Regions from separate parts of the Homo sapiens genome. Here region 2 is linked to region 1. Evidence: promoter capture Hi-C in human tissues and cell types (Jung and others, 2019). All regions are on one chromosome and are shown on one strand. The core of a region is centred on a gene start or on the middle of the fragment in contact, and the rest is flanking DNA. Distances in the headings are between cores, read along the strand shown.

Region 1 (3,236 bases), core at 325-2,824:
AGCTGAGGGATTAGGTCAGTGAGTCTCAGGATCAGTGAATGGCTATTTCAGATAGCGTTGGGTAATGTTTCATAAAAGCTGAAAACGTTTCATGACTTATTTTCTTAGGCTGTATCAAAATATTCTTGGTATCAAAATGACTAGTTCAAAACATGTACCCATTTGATCTTCATAATAACAGTGTGAGGTAAACAGAGCCTGTCATTTCCATCATAAAGAAAAGGAAACTAAGGAAATATACCCTTCATTCAGCTGGGATTTTAAAATATGACTTAATTTTTTAATGCAGTATACTGGGATAATAATGCTATGTTATTACTGCCAATAAAGAGTTTTTTGTTTTGAAGGAGCTGTTAGATTTAGAATACTCTTTAGATCCTCAAAGGAAGTATTTGAGTGACTTCCAAACTCAAAAACCTCCGGAGCAAGGGAGATTTGTTTGTCAGCTTGGTTGTTTGTTTGTTTTTAGGTACTTGAATAACTTCCTCCTTGAAAAGGAGGGTGCAGAAATCAAAGGCCTGATTGTGCTGAATCCTTCTCTTTGGTCATTATTCAGACTGGTTCCCAGCATGCCGCAGTCCAGAGGAAAAGGTCCAAGTTCTGTTTAAAAATCAGAGACTAAAGAGCTTACTCAGCATCCTGCTCACATTAATGTTGCTTGTTTTCATCATTTAAAGTCTTTTGATAGTTCCTTGTATACAATAACCTTAGGCTTCTGGGAATATTCTCAGAACATAGGAAGCACCTCCCTGACTTAGTAAAGATGAAAAATGCTTTTCATGACTATCCCCTCTCTTGAAGGACCCCCTGGAACAGCCAGGTCTTTGGGCATAATTAAATTCTGGGCAAGATTTTACAGAAATGCAGCTTCTTTTTTCTAATTTAGTTGTGTGGTGTGTGTGTGTAAAGTGGGGGAGGTTCCACTTGGTGGGGAAAGGAGAATTTGCCATTGCTGCTCGTCTACTCAGGACTGTTTCTGTTGTTGTTGTGTTTCAGCATCAGAGAGTGAGAGTGTATTGCAGCAATCTGACTATTTGGAAGACTGTTCCTTGAATTTCCCAATTCAAAAGCCTCGGTAGAGCTGAGGGATGCTTGATACGTCAACACAGACCACAAAAGGCAGGGCTTTTCTAAAGAGATTATAATTATATCTACCTTTTGGGTACAGGAGGTGAATGGAAGGAAGGGATTCTGGAGCAGATATCCCAAAAGAAGAATCCCGAAGCAGAACTCCTCGCACAAGGTTATCTAAATCTCCTTGACAGGTGCACAGGCAGAGAAGGCATTTGGCCCTTGAAGTAACATTTACTTGAGAGGTTGGGACAATTCTGTCACGCTTAGGACAAGCCAGCTGACCCTGAGCCCAGGAGCACCCTAGGACTGCAGCACAGAAAATACACCAGCTGGCCGGTCGCCCCTCCTTTGTTCCATTCCCGGGGGATTGGAGTAGCGTTGGAGTCACCGACGCCATCCCCTCCCGCCTCTGGCGTGCATGGAGCATGCGCTTCCTTCCTCACTTCCTCTGCAGGAGGGAGCGAGAGTAAAGCTACGCCCTGGCGCGCAGTCTCCGCGTCACAGGAACTTCAGCACCCACAGGGCGGACAGCGCTCCCCTCTACCTGGAGACTTGACTCCCGCGCGCCCCAACCCTGCTTATCCCTTGACCGTCGAGTGTCAGAGATCCTGCAGCCGCCCAGTCCCGGCCCCTCTCCCGCCCCACACCCACCCTCCTGGCTCTTCCTGTTTTTACTCCTCCTTTTCATTCATAACAAAAGCTACAGCTCCAGGAGCCCAGCGCCGGGCTGTGACCCAAGCCGAGCGTGGAAGAATGGGGTTCCTCGGGACCGGCACTTGGATTCTGGTGTTAGTGCTCCCGATTCAAGCTTTCCCCAAACCTGGAGGAAGCCAAGGTATGTGAACACTTTTCTTCTTCCTACCTTCCTTTTATTTCGCCACGAAAAGGTAAAGTTTGGCATAATACGTGAGCTGTAAATCACCCTGACGCGTTTTCTGATCAAATCATATCCATGAATACGGACAGAGAAATCAGTTCGAATTTAGAGACAGAAGACAGATTTTTTTTCTTCACTTTTAAAATGATAGAGCAATAATATGGGTTGTTTTTAAAGATCTTATTTTGAAAAGGGAAGGGAACCTTTTTCACCTAAAGTGGCTTGGATTGTTTTCTAGTTGCCTTACAACCTTTCTCAGACAGTCTATTCATTATATATGCAGTATATGATGAAAGAGCTTTTAGTGTGCCAATAATACCAATCCAAATTATGCTCTCTCTAGCTGAGAATAGCTGATAACCCTAGTGTTAGAACTATATGTTAAATTTCTGGTCAGAAAAAAAAAAAAGTGTGATTCTGTCAGCTCAAGAAATACACCAAGATAATAAACAAGGCAATATTGATAATTACTATTATTGTATAATCTTGATAATCTTTGTTAATATGCATTTGTTTCATAGTCATCCAAAATTATTTCTCCTAATATTTTTCCTTTTTATAAAAATTTTATTTAATAAGAGGCATATTTTGTCCTTCAACGCACAATTAAATTTATATTCACATGTGTTTATTCTAGACAAATCTCTACATAATAGAGAATTAAGTGCAGAAAGACCTTTGAATGAACAGGTAGGTCAAAAGTAACATTATGAATGCTATTTCATTTTGATTTAGTTATTATTATTTAATGTAATTATGCTGTGACATTTTGGTCATTTTGAATTTACAAACATCAGGAACTTAATAGTTAATTGACAGAAATTAGGACGGGAAATCTAGTTTTGGTAAATTCTATGCCCTAGCAGTTATTTACATTGAGTTCTGTATAATGAATACATAGAGTAACTATATAATAACCCAGTAAGCTCAGCATCACATCCACTCTGTTGTAAGATTGCCTAATTTACCAGAGATTTCTCTTTCAACAATATTATAGGAGAAAGAAATTAACACTGACTGAGCATCTACCCTTAATTTTATCTCATTTAATTATTATAACAGTGCTCTGAAATAGGAATTATCCACATTTTACAAACAAGACAATTAAATCCCATGGAGATTAAATCATTTGGCTCTTGTACTTGGTAAGTAGTGGAGCAATGATTTTAAACCAAGTCTATCTCCTGTTTGCTTCACAGATTGCTGAAGCAGAAGAAGACAAGATTAAAAAAACATATCCTCCAGGTAAAAAGAAATCATATTGATGTTAATTTAAATAATGTAG
Region 2 (3,236 bases), core at 385-2,884, 39 kb before region 1:
CTGGGCGACAGAGCGAAACTCCATCTCAAAAACAAAAAAAAAGTAAAAAGAAAACAAACTAGGCCAGGCACGGTGGCTCAAGTCTGTAATCCCAGGACTTTGGGAGGCCGAGGCAGGCGGATCACAAGGTCAGGAGATCGAGACCATCCTGGCTAACACGGTGAAACCCTGTCTGTACTAAAAATACATAAAATTAGCCAGGTGAGGTGGCGGGTGCCTGTAGTCCCAGCTACTCAGGAGGCTGAGGCAGGACAATGACGTGAACCCAGGAGGCGGAGCTTGCAGTGAGCCGAGATCACGTCACTGCACTCCACCCTGGGCAACAGAGCAAGACTTCATCTAAAAAAAATAAATAAATAAATAAGAAAGAAAGAAAGAAAATAAATAAATATAGATATATATAAATCCATGTCCTATCTTCTAGTAAAATCAGTAGAAGTAGAAAAAATACCCCTCTCACTGAGCCCTCTCTGGCAAATACTACATATCTTTTTTATAATAACAAAATTCCACTTATATATTTTATGATGAGAATGCCTAATTCCAGTTTTCTTAAATAAGGGTCCATCTCCAATATTGGATCCAGAGCTGCTGGGAGGGAAAGACTTTGTTTTTGGCTTCAGTTTAGGATTATTTTGGTTTTGCCCACTTTTACTTTATTTTTATTTTATCCTGTGTTTCCTTTATTTCTCCTAAATTTACCTCATAAATGTCAAGGCATATCCCTTGATTCTAGTTAGTCGTGTTTAAGTAAACAAGCTTCCTTTCATCCTGTCTTTGTTGTGATTTTTAGAAGTGCTTGTTATTTATTCTCGCATTCATTCAACAAACTTTATTTGTGCTCCTCACTTGGCTTGGGACCTGTTAGCAGCTGGGACTACACAGAGTCTGCTCTTAAAGAGCTCGGGGTCTAGTGGCTCCATAAACTATATTATTAGTGCCTATGTCCAAAACTAAAATAAGCACTTAGTAAACATTTTTGGTTGAAGCAATGAAACTTCCTTGTTTTCTTCTCTTAGGATTTGTAAATTGAGAAGTTCCTGCTAGTTCTTGACTTACCCCTGGCTCAGGCTAATGTCGAAATACAAATACATTGGGCCTCAAGCTCTCAAAGATTAGTTACCACCTTAAACAAATGATTAACAGATTAAAACTTTATGCTTTACCCTGCAAATTTTTAATAAATACCAGAAATGGAAATGTCACTCAACAACTTTTAAAAATTAAACTTGAAGGTCTATATGCAAAGCAAGATCAATTAGCTTTCTATATGATCTTTACCTTGTTCCATTTTCCTGATTTAGTTGTAATTTACACAAAGATTATTTCTGGGAACTATGAAGTAAGTTCATTTATCCAATACCAGAACCACTAAAAGACAGAGTTCTCCCCTTTACTGCAAATATGACAAAAATAATGACAATGGGGAATATATATGGAGACTAAGGTTACCAACTATTCTTTCTTTGGAGGAACAATCCTTTGTTTTCAAATTATATTTTTCCAGTTTGGGAGGAGAGGAGCGCTAAAATGTTTAATCTTTATGGAAACAAAGGTCATAGTACAGAGTAGTGTGACTTTTTTAAAAACATCCTTACTGGGCAAAATAAAAAAGTTTGCAAGGTTATTTTTATTCCTTTTCCCACTTTGTTATTTATTTATATCTCTGAAGTTCAAAAGTCTGGAAACTGTTATCAGAGAGTGAGATCCATAGACATTTGGGACATCAATGACGTTGACTTACTCACTTATTTAAGACATCTCCGGGCTTGAACCCAGTCACCATAAGTAGTGTAATGACTGTTCTCAAACTTCCCAAAGCAAGATCAGATCTTATCCTGTACTATGATCTTGTCCAATAATTTGTTTATCTTATTAAATTGTTTTTCTTATGAAATCCTGTCTACCTAATGCTCTACTTTTCTGTGATTCAAAACTAAGATGTTGAAGAACCAATGATCTTAAAAACAGGACAGGACTTGTTTCCTGAATGTAATGTGGAGGAAAGGGCACAGGCTGTAGAATCAGAGGGCTGTTCAGACGCTGCTTCTGCCAGCTACTCACTGTGTAATCTTAGGCAGTTTATTTCTCTGATCTTCAGTGTTTTCATCTGAATAATGAGAATAAAACTACATTTCTGAGTGTAAGGACTAAATGTAATAATATATGGCTATTCTTAGGATCTGGCACACAATGGTTGCTCAATAAAAGTAGCCATTATAGCCGGGTGCGGTGGCTCATGCCTGTAATCCCAGTACTTTGGGAGACCGAGGCAGGTGGATCACCTGAGGTCAGGAGTTCGAGACCAGCCTGACCAACATGGTGAAACCCCGTCTCTACTAAAAATACAAAAATTAGCTGGGCATAGTGGAATGCACCTGTAGTCCCAGCTACTCGGGAGGCTGAGGCAGGAGAATAGTGTGAACCTGGGAGATGGAGCTTGCAGTGAGCTGAGATCGCGTCACTGCACTCCAGCCTGGGCGACAGAGCGAGACTCCATGTCAAAAAGAAAAAAAAAAAGTAGCCATTATCACCTATTTACTTTTTTTTTTTTTTTTGAGACAGAGTCTTGCTCTTGTTGCCCAGGCTGGAGTGCAATGATGTAATCTCGGCTGACTGCAACCTTTGCCTCCCGGGCTCAGGTGATTCTCCTGCCTCAGCCTTCCCAGCAGTTGGAATTACGGGTGCATTCCACCATGCCCAGCTAATTTTTGTATTTTTAGTGGAGATGGGGTTTCACCATGTTGGTCAGGATGGTCTCTAACTCCTGATGTCAGGTGATCCACCTGCCTCAGTCTCCCAAAGTGCTGGGATTACAGGCGTGAGCCACTGCACCCGGCTATTACCTATTTTCTAACATTACCTCTATGTAGTTGGAACATTTTTGATGATTTTTTAAATAATATAAATACACAAAGACATTTTGGGTTTTTTTGTTTTTGTTTTTTGGGCTTTTTTTTTTTTTTTTTTTAGACGGAGTCTTGCTCTGTTACCGTGCAGTGGCATGATCTTGGCTCACTGCAACCTCAGCCTCCTGAGTTCAAGTGATCCTCCTGCCTCAGCCTCCCGAATAGTTGGCATTACAGGTATGCACCACCAAAACCAGCTAATTTTTGTATTTTTAGTAGAGAGGGGGTTTCACCACGTTGGCCAGGCTGGTCTCAACCTCCTTATGTCAGGTGATCCACCTGCCTTGGCCTCCCAAAGTGCTGGGATTAGAGGCGTGAGCCACCATG

What was found. The method cuts DNA at HindIII sites, captures the fragments that hold promoters and counts their contacts. A contact is called where the count stands out against the background at its distance.
Region 2: a fragment that was not itself captured here is called in contact with the fragment with the promoter of SCG3 in region 1 in 1 of the 25 tissues and cell types used here (mesendoderm cells).

The regions. Positions count from the first base shown.
Region 1 is chr15:51,679,929-51,683,164 of GRCh38, forward strand. It overlaps SCG3 (secretogranin III), which reads left to right and starts at 1,575. Exons shown (of 12, transcript NM_013243.4): 1 at 1,575-1,909; 2 at 2,589-2,641; 3 at 3,151-3,196. The coding sequence starts at 1,828. The HindIII fragment of the contact is 9,018 bases long and covers 1-3,236 here.
Region 2 is chr15:51,640,896-51,644,131 of GRCh38, forward strand. The region is part of intron 2 of LOC105370816 (a long non-coding RNA gene); the gene reads right to left. Among named protein-coding and RNA genes, the nearest start is that of DMXL2, 20 kb to the left of the region's middle. The HindIII fragment of the contact is 6,959 bases long and covers 1-3,236 here.